2 separate regions of the Homo sapiens genome follow, and region 1 is linked to region 2. The links are contacts of gene promoters, found by promoter capture Hi-C in blood cells and fetal thymus (Javierre and others, 2016). All regions are on one chromosome and are shown on one strand. The core of a region is centred on a gene start or on the middle of the fragment in contact, and the rest is flanking DNA. Distances in the headings are between cores, read along the strand shown.

Region 1 (5,190 bases), core at 1,551-4,050, 110 kb after region 2:
TAAACACATAAGTATAATCAGATACCTGTTTCACCAGTCTTGTACACTACCAAATCATTATTAGAACTAACTAATGCCAAGGCTTCCATACTTTGTTTGTTCCCAGCTTATTCCTGACTTCAAGATTTCTAACCATGCTTGTTCAAAGTTAAAAAAAAACTGTTGTAGCCAGCCTTCAGCTAGGATTTTTGTTCAACCAGATCTTCATGCCAACAAGAAGCACCTCTTTCCTACTGTATGCTATTAAAGATTCAATATTTCCTTTAGAATAAAATCCAGACATTTTCACCATAGTTTACATAATCTAGCCCCTGTCTAGCTCTACCGCCTCGATGTTCGCCACTTGCACATTAGACCACTGACACACTGGAATGAATGCATAATCATTCCCATGCAGGAACTTTGCCCTTCCTTTTTCCTCTACCTGAACTACGCATTTGCCAAATCTTTGTGTGGTTTCCTCCTTATTTAAAGAGGCTTTCCCTAGTCATTCTTTGTGATCCTGCCCCCAACATCTCTTTCTATCTCATTGTGCTATTTTATTTTCTTCATAGCAATTACTGCTGCCTGAAATTGCCTTATTTTTTCCTTATTTATTACTAGTCTCCCCCACCCCCGCTTTTCCAAATGTGAGGAACCTATTCACTGTTGTGTCTTTATTGCAGGGTCATCACAGACAGTTGCATTGATTATGCACTGCACAATTGTATCATAGTCTATGTGTATACATACATGGTGGCCTGCTCTCTAGGTGCCTGCCACATATAGGTGCTCAATAAAAATCCAGTAAGTGAATGAAAAGCTGCCTTTGTCCTTCAAGTTTCCCCAGTTTTCTTCAGCTCCTTTTGTTCATTTGTGACCCAAGAGGATAAGATTGAAATATTGATATAGAAAAAAAATAGGTTCTAGTATAGGTAAAATTCTTTTCAAGTCTTTTTCAAAGCAACAAATTCTCTGGCATCTATGTTACATTTGACCCTGTTTATTCTCGTTTGGAAAACCCTGCCCTTCAGATATTACTCCCAACCTAACCCAAGACACATATGCTTTTCATTTTCTTACCGAAAATTTAATCTCTTTATAATTGTTCTCCTTGCTAAGAGCCACAAGATCTTGGCAGGTTTGAACTCATAGTACTCATTACAGATATCATTCATTTGGGAATTTTTTTATGAGTTGACATATGAAATTTCTCCTACTTTTGTATTTATTCCCATCTAGCACTTAAATTTACATCTAACTTTTTATAGTGTGCCCCTGCCTGCGCTTCTACTATATGTTGTTGAGGAGACAGACTGATATTTCTACTTTCAATTCTCTAGGCAACTGTCAACTGTCCAGCCTATAATAGGTCCTCAATATCAAATGCTAATTTGAGATGATTCGCTTTTTTTAGTAACTGAATTTCTGATTCAGAATGAAATCTTTAAAAGGAACCAGGCTCCCTTTCTCAAGATACATCAGTGAAAAACACTTGAAAGTATATATCCAGCTGTTAACATTGTTTATTGAGAGGTTATTAGATTATGGTGGGTTTTTTCCTTCTAAAGTTTCTGACATTTTCTAATTTTTCTCACTGAGTTTTTATTAAAATTTTAATTGGAAAAATAATGGAAATACATTGTGTTTTTGAAGACAGTACAACAATTACATATGCCGTAAATAGGTTTTGAAGACATAAATTCTGCTCAGGACTTGGGGGACTCTGTTCTCGAGTCCAGGCCCTCCCTCATGTTGCCTAGGAAGGTAGTGCCAGAGCTTGCCAGAGGGAAAGAGAATTGGCAGGTGGTGCCAGAAGTCTAGAACCAGGAGCAATCATGGTAAGTCGGAGCAGACGTTGGCAGAGAGAGGTTGAAGAGACAGTTGGAAGCTGGAAACAAGGAGACCATTTTATTTCACTTAATCCATTTTATTTCATTTAAATTTTTTTACTTAGCATTTATCATACCAGCCACTTTCAAATTCATGATCTCACGTTAATCCTTTTATCACTTTGTGGAAGGTATTTATACACTAGTTTTCAGATGGGGCAAAGAGCATTCTCAGAAATGTAAATAATTACATTCATTCTCACAGCTAGTAGGTGGCAGAGACAAGATTCAAACTTCACAATAATTCCCTGCAAGACTCAAGTAAGAGAAGATTGGTGGTTCAGAACTGAGACCACAACTGCTCAGTTTCTAGACTGATGCTGCTTGGAAAAATCCTGTTGCACTTGAACTTGCCTGGCTAAGTTCAGATGTTTTAAAGAAGCTTATCAAACCAGACATTAATTAGGACCCCAAAATCTGGTCAGACGCTAGCAGGAAAGTGGGAGATATATTTTAGGGATTCCTGGGATTCAGACTTCACAGGCCTTGCTCAGTCATCACATTTATTAATATTTGCCCAAATCCTGGGATGGGAATGAGAGAATGAGGAACACACTGATTAGCAACTTTCAATCTCTGCTGACCTAACATTGTGTAATAAATTGGTCAAAAGCTTAGTCTTTGGAATAGAGCAATCACAAGTAAATTCTCAGTTCTGTTTTTTCCTGGCTGGGTGACACTGAGGCCAGGCACTTAACCTCTCTGAGGCTTCATTTCCTTAATGCTGAAATGAACATGGGGGTGTAGGTATCCCTTTGATATACTGATCTACTTTTCTTTGGATAAATACCCAGTAGTGGGATTGCTGGATCATATGGTAATTCTATTTTTAGTTTTTTGAGAAATCTTCATGCTATTTTCCATAATGGCTATACTAATTTACATTATTACCAACGCTGTATGAGTTCCTTTTTCTCCATATCCTCACCAGCATCTGTCTTTTTGTAATTAGCATTCTAACTGGGATACGATAATATCTCTTTGTGGTTTTGTTGATTTACATTTCCCCGATGATTAGTAATGTTGAACATTTTTTCATATAGCTGTTGGTCATTTGTCTTCTTTTGAGAAATATCTATTAATATCCTTGCCCAATTTTTAATGGGGTTATTTGGGGGGTTTTTTTGCGGTTAAGTTCCTTGTACATACTGGATATTATTCCCTTGTCAAATGAGCAGCTTGCAAATATTTTCTCCTATTCAACAGGTTGTCTCTTCACTGTGTTGATTGTTTTATTTGCTGTGCAAAAGCTTTTTGGTTTAATACAGTCACCACATTAGTTCATTCTCACATTGCAATAAAGAAATACCTGAGGCTGGGTAATTTATAAAGAAAGGAGGTTTAATTGGCTCATGGTTCTGCAGGATATACAGGATGCATAGTGGCTCCTGGAGAGGCCTCAGGAAACTTTTACTCACGGCAGAAGGCAAAGCAGGAGTAATCTCTTACATGGCCGGAGCAGGAGGAAGAGGGAGAGGTAGTAAGAGCTACACACTTTTAAACCAGCAGATCTTGTGACAACTCACTATCATGAGAACAGCACCAAAAGGGAAATCGCCACCATAATCCAATCGCCTCCCACCAGGCTCCACCTCCAACGTAGGGGATTACAATTTGACATGAGATTTGGGTGGAGGCACAGACCCAAACCATATCAGTTGCATTTGTCTATCTTTGCTTTTGTTGCCTCTGCTTTTGAGGTCTTTGCCATAAAATCTTTACCTAGACCAATGTCTTGGAGTGTTTCTCCTATGTTTTCTTCCAGTCATTTTATAGTTTCAGGTTCTATATTAAAGTCTTTGATCTATTTTGAGTTGATTTTTATATATAGTGAAAGGGGTCTAGTTTCATTGTTATGCATATGGATATAGAGTTTTCCCAGCACATTTATTAAAAAGACTTGAATGGATGTTCTAGGTGCCTTTGTCAAAAGTTAGTTGGCTGTAAACCAGGCTTGGTAGCTCAGACCTGTAATCCCAGTTATGTGGAAGGCTGAAGTGGGAGGATTACTTGAGCCCAGGAGTTCAAGCCTGCAGTGAGCTATGACCATGCCACTGCAATTCAACCTGAGTGACAGAGAAAGACCCCATCGCTACAAAAAAAAAAAAATCAAATTAAAAAAAAATAAGCTGGCAGTAAATACGTCGATTTATTTCTGGGTTTTCTATTCTCTTCCATTGGTCTATGTGTCCGTTTATACCAATACCATGCTGTTTTGGTTATTATAACCTTGTAATATATTTTGAAGACAGGTAGTGTGATGCCTCCAGCTTTGTTCTTTTTGCTCAGGATTGCTTTGGCTATTTGGGCTCTTTTTTGGTTCAGTGCAAACTTTAGGATTGTTTTTTTCTATTTCTGTGAAGAATGTTGTTGGTATCTCCATAGGGATTGTATTGAATCTATAGATTGCTTTGGGTAGTATGGTCATTTTAACAATGTTAATCCTTTCGATCCATGAGCATGGGATGTTTTTCCATTTGTTTGTGTCTTCTTCAATTTCTTTCATCAGTGTTTTGTAGCTTTCCTTATACAGGTCATTCACCTCCTTGGTAAAACTTATTTCTAGAATTTTTTTGTAGCTATTGTAAATGGGATTGCCTTCTTGATTTATTTTTCACCCAGTTTAATATAAATGTATAGAAATGTCACTGATTTTTGTATGTTGATTTTGTATCCTGCAACTTTAGTGAATTTGTTTATCAGATCTAAGAGTTACTTGGTGGAGTTTTTAGATTTTTTTAAATATAAGATCATGTCATCTGCAAAGAGGGACAATTTGACTTCCTCTTTTCCAATCTGGATGCCTTTTACTTCTTGAAATAGCATTTCAACAGATAAGAAAGGCATTTACAGATGTTTTCTTTCACCAAAAGGTGTGGCATAAATAATTATTCATGAAATATTAAACTGTTTATTATGTAGCATTTCTCAGCAACAGAACAACAGAAGAAGGTATGGCTCTCTTTCATGTTAGCTTAAAAGAAACTTACTACACGTGTTTTATAGATATATAACATATGCTTTTAGAAAGGGTCTACCTGGGTGGCAATTTTCTTTTGCTAATAGACTCACCAGGGGGTTGTCCTATGCTTTCACGAGCTCCAGAGCAGGTGGGCTGCAGAGCTGACCACTTTCCCATCTACTCCTCAAGGGGTCTCTGCTGCCACTCATCCCTGCAGCTTCTCATCATTTCTACCATTTCTAACCTCTGCTACTTCTGCAATTATACCACTTCCTTTACTAACCACTCCTCTTTCTTCTTCTGTTTTCTAGTTCCTTTCACTTATTCCCTGCTTCATGGATTTAACAAACAAAAGTT
Region 2 (5,332 bases), core at 2,701-5,200:
ATTATTAATATTCATATAGCCCTTGGTTTTTATTTGTTTATCGGAAATAAGAGCTCTTCATAACCAGGGCTTCAGATATCATCATTTTATCGGCACCAAAATACCTGAGGGAGGAGGTGTCTTTATTTTTATAGCTCCTTTTAGCTTTGTGCACCAAATACTTCAAGGATATTTATCACTGCTGAGTATCTTTTTGAAATAAGAAAACATAAGCAGATTAGGACACTAAAGAACTAGAGAAGGGAATTTAAGTTTGGGTAGACAAAAGAAATATTATCATGGTTGAGAAAGGTGGATTCTGGGTCCCTAAATCTCACCCCATTGATGACCTCTGCTCCAGGCACAGAGGAGGACATGACTTAAGGGAAAATGCATGGTCAGCACAGGCTGGAGTTTCAGTCCCAAACTTGTAGCCCCACCCTGGGGAGCTTGGGAGGCCCCCTTTTCCTCTGAGCACCAGAGCTAGAGTGAAGGCAGGTGGAATATCCTGTTACCTGGCTAATTACTCCCAGGCCCCACCATGTTCCTGATGGGCTCATCTTGCTATTTTCTCTCCAGAAGAGGAAGTATGAGGTTGTGTGAAAATGTGAGCATGTGTGTCCCCTAAGATACCTTTCCACGCTTCTTTCCCCTTGCCCCAGCCAAAAGGTCATCCAAGGAAGTTGGGGGATAATCAGGCCCAGAGGTGCCCTGGACCAGACGTCCCATGATCTAGCATACGCAAAGGAAGACGCTAAGAAAGTACACATGGAGAAGACGAGGGATACAGGGTGTTTCTTTCCAATCTCTCTGCTTCTTCCAGCAAAAGCCCCACCCTCTAGCCCTCAAGCCTGCTGGCCTCATGGAGTGTAACTAATCCACAGCAGCATCCCTCCTTCTGGGGACACAGTGTTGGGTAAGGAAGTGTAGGGGAGCCAGAGTCTTTGAAACCTTATCAGCCTAAAATCTCAGGGTTACACACAAGTCAGAGGCACTTTCTGTCACCCCTCCTTCTGACCCTGGTCCCACCATTCTCTCAGGTGGAACGCTCCCACCATGCTCTCCCCCTCTATGTCCCACATTAGTCCAAATGTTTCCTTCACGTCATCTCTCATGTCTATAGCTTTCCACATTCGCAGATTCCACCCTAATTCACATACCAAGATTATTACCAGAGACTCTGTTACTGGATTCCTTGACTTTCCCATCAATTATTCTATCTCTCTCCTTCCAAATGACTATCCCTAAGTATCATTGTCTTTGTGCCAAGCTTAGGTACCAACCTTCTGTAGTTCTCATAACCTACAGATTATGATGCAAGGAACTATTAATAGCACAGATTCTGGAGCCAGTCTCCTGGAGCTCCAATCCTGGTTCTGCCACTTATTAACTCTGTTACTTTAGGCAAGTTACTTAACCTCTCTGTGCTTCAGCGTCCACCTCCTAAAATAAGATAAGATAGTAAATACCCCATAGGATTGATCCGAGGATTAAACAAGTTAATACAGAAGTGTCTAAGCAACCAGGAACTGGTAGCTATTATCACTCTTGTTACCGAATGTGGTCCCAACTTCTCAGCCCGGCATCTATTGGTGCATACAGTCAGTACTCTGAAACTACACTCTTGAAATTGTAGATGCTATCCTAGGGGTCGCTAGTAGCTTCTAAAACAAATTAGAAGCCCACTTAAGGTGATAGTCATGGTGGCCAATGAGTCATTCTCTGCTCTCACAGAGTAAAGATTTAATTTGAACTAAGAACCTTAGAAGAAATACAGAAAGCGGGCGAGGAGAGGTGGTTTTTCCCCTCTGCTGTTCCTGGGGACACATGTGATGCTCTGAGAAGGCAGAAGGGAAGATTCGAGCTGATTATAATCTAATGAGGCTGCCAAATCAGTTTCACTTTCCAATACCACATAAGGACTGGTGAGTCTCATGGGCCCTGAGCCAGGATTATTTTAACTGGTAGCATTAGCTGGGTCAGACCGATCAGCCTCTATGGGGAATACTTTGGGAACTGTCATCTTCCAAGCCAGCGCAAGAACAGCCTCTGCCACTGAACTGATGGTGATACACACGGTATTTGGAGGGCAAATCTGATTCACATGCAGTAGCAGGAGATGGAAGAGTGGTTAAAATGAAAGGGAGAGGAGAAGAAGAGCAAGGGACGAGCATAATACAGGGAAAGAAGAATAATACAGGTAGAATAGGAATTACATAGAAGGGAGAAGATCATTTTTTAAAAAAAATAAGGGCCAGGCATGGCAGCCTATAATGGTAGGCAGCACTTTGGGAGGCCATGGCTGGAGGACAGCTTGAGGTCAGGAGTTTGAAATCAGCCTGGGCAACATAGCAAGACCCCCATCTTGACAAAAAATACAAAAGTTAGCCAGATGTGGTGGAACACACCTGTAGTCTCAGCTACTCAGGAGGCCGAGGCAGGAGGATCACTTGAGTCCAAGGGTTTGAGGCTGCAGTGAGCTATGATCATGCCACTGCACTCCAACCTGGGTGACAGAGACCTTGTCTCTAAAAAGTAAAGAAATGAAATAGAAAATAAAAACGAATGGTAGAAATAAAAGGAACTGAGTAGTAGGGGGCAGAGGCATGTCTAGGGGAGAGAACTAGAACTGCCAAGGGATTTGAGTGCCTGATGGATTCTGAAGACTGAAATATACATGACCCCAAAAAGCAATGTCATTTGTAAATATTTGTTAATGAGTTTAGTGAAGTGCTACATGGAGGAATGATCTAGCCAATGAGAACAATGTGCACCAGCCAGTTGGATTCTTGAAGCTGCAGAGACTTCATCTTCAGCCACAGCAGGTGGCTGAGGGCTAGAGTTACTTGGGACTTTCCCCAATGCTCTAGTTCCTTCTATCTCTTGGAAACAAGTCTGGCTCAATATGTTCAGCAGCCCCATTGATGTTGCCCAGAGGAAGTGTGGATCAGGGCTCGCTGACCCCAAGGTTAGCAGCAGAAGAGCAGGGCCTCTGCCTCCCCAGCCAGGAAGCCCACAGTCTTGGCCACATGAATGAAGGAGGTCTTGGCAGCATCTGACACACCTCGGGGTAATGATTTAGCCACCCCAAATTACCGTGTCTCCACAAAATAGTCACTTGGGGCCACACTACATTGTGGAGAGATAATGAAAGAGCTTCTATTTTTGAGCTATCTTTTCCTCATATGCGAATAATTTCACACACAAAAAAATGAGAAAACCACTTCTCTCTGTCACCTACAGAATCAGGAACAGGGATCAGATTATCTTTTAGATACCCGCCCCAAAAAGAAATAAAAATCAAGAAAACATGGGTAAATACCATGGTGGACATTTAAATGAAGCTGAGAAAGAAAGCTTTCTCTATTTAGAGAAGAATTCAAAATGGATGGCAGGAGATTTGTTGAAAATAAGGAAGAGGGAGGGAAAGGTTAGTAAATAATAGGTCAAATCTTCAGCCTAGAGGGCACTACTAAGTTTTCTTTTGTTCCCCCTTAGGTTTCCTGGTGTAGCAGTGCAGTTGCAACGTAGTTTTGTTTTTTGGGTTTCTTTAAACCTAGAGTGGTAAGAGGGACTTGGTGGCGATGGACTGCCATGGGTCGGTTCCTTAGAGGGCTCTTGAGTTTTTCCCACCTGTCTCCAACTCCAGGGCCACCACTCTAATAAAGCCACTGCCATCTCTGACCAGCTCCCCTGCTGTGGCTTTCACTCTTGCTCTCTTTACAGCCCATTCCACACAGCAGCAGCCAGCATGGCACTTCCCGTTCTGGGCCCCTCCCACTGACTGCACCCTGTGCTTGTCCTTCATAGTGTGTAAAGATCTGTATGTGGGGTGATTTGACTAACGGTTCTCTCCCCTTAAGTATAAGTAAACCTATGAGGGCAAGGACTGCTTACCTTAGCATCCTTGGTTCCTGGTAGGATGCCCATCCCATAACAGGCTGGAGCTCCTGGGTGTGTGGGAGGGAGTAGGAAGGAAGCAACAGCTGCCAATCAAAGGCCCATTTGGGCATGTGACCCTTAGCTAGCCAATCAGAATCCTTTCCAGGGTTGTAGCAGTTGAAGCTGTGAGCAGCTCAGTTGGTTGGGTTGTCTGTCTTGTCTTGGCTTGGATTCTCCCAGAAGGAGATCCTGAGTCAATGATTCGGGTGCAAGTAGATTTCTTCTGGGAGCCTTTCTTTAATAAAGCACTTGCACCTGAGTCATTGACTCAGGATCTATTTCAGGATCTCCTTCTTGAGGGAGAGGGCGAAACAGGATCCAGAAGAAGCAAAGCAATGGAGCAGGCATGGCATCAGGAAGAGGACAGGGAGGCTGCCGTAAGCCCAGCAGGCTCCCTTTCAGGCTGTTAAGGAGGGGGATGAGTACGAACATGAAGGTGGCCCAAGTAGCTCTAAGGTCCCTTCTCTCATCTCCTGTCCTTACCGGGGGCCGTAGGCTCTAGATAAAACGCTGCCCCACCACCCGCCAGGGCTTTTGTTTTGGCTCACCTTTCATCCGCCTTCTCAGACTCTGTCTGCCTTGGCTTCCCTCAGCTGAACCCAGGGAATTTGCATTTTGCTATTTTCCATCTGCACTGGGTAGCCTGGCTCCAGATGTTTGGGGCAGCAAATGCAGAAATTCCAGGCAAACGGATCTGATCATTCTCTGCTTGGCTCCACTCGCTGCATCCCAAGCACCAGATGCCTCACTGGTGTCTGCCTACCTTCCTGGGAGGCAGATCCACCGCTCATAAGATAGAGCCCAACGACAAGACCCTGTACTTATGGAGGCCTTTTATTTAACAACTCATTTCATTGAAGGAAAAATCTAGAATCTACTAAGACCTCCTGATATTTTTTAATTAACTAGAAATTGTGGATGTATCCCTCAATATTTTCATCTAAAGTGGTTGAAATGATAATGGAGGGGAAACTGTGTTTTAAAAGCGTGTTACTCCATTTCTTTCATTCACCTCCATCAATGATAATATGAGTTATCACTCTTAATATTAACCACGTGGCAGGCTTCATGCATTCTCACATACATTTCACCCTAAGGCCTGGAGAAGATAATTTCACCAAAGTCACACAGGTAGTACATGGAAAGGTGTAAATTTGAACCTGGATCTTACTGCAAACCCATACTCTTAACTGCTTCATTCAACTTTTGCCAGCAATCATTTGTCATAGACTAAATGCCAGAACCTAAGCCCAAGATTTTGCAGTATACAGAGGAGAAACTGGATGTCTTTTGAAATGCTTCAGAATGGTTTCTATAGTACATATCTGAGCAGCACTCCATGACCAAAGGATGCCAAATCCTTTGCCCCTTGTATTACACTTCATTCATTAGTTCATTCATTCATTCAACA

The links. Contacts are between HindIII fragments. The CHiCAGO score rates a contact against its expected background, and 5 or more counts as called.
Region 1: a fragment that was not itself captured here is called in contact with the fragment with the promoter of SLC1A3-AS1 in region 2 in 1 of 17 cell types (monocytes); the score reaches 5.8 in monocytes.

The regions. Positions count from the first base shown.
Region 1 is chr5:36,837,187-36,842,376 of GRCh38, forward strand. No RefSeq gene overlaps it. Among named protein-coding and RNA genes, the nearest start is that of NIPBL-DT, 37 kb to the right of the region's middle. The HindIII fragment of the contact is 637 bases long and covers 2,483-3,119 here.
Region 2 is chr5:36,721,238-36,726,569 of GRCh38, forward strand. It overlaps SLC1A3-AS1 (SLC1A3 antisense RNA 1), which reads right to left and starts at 3,951. Exons shown (of 2, transcript XR_007058736.1): 1 at 3,877-3,951. RefSeq lists enhancers at 2,529-2,578, 2,589-2,638, 2,679-2,948. The HindIII fragment of the contact is 5,384 bases long and covers 3,335-5,332 here.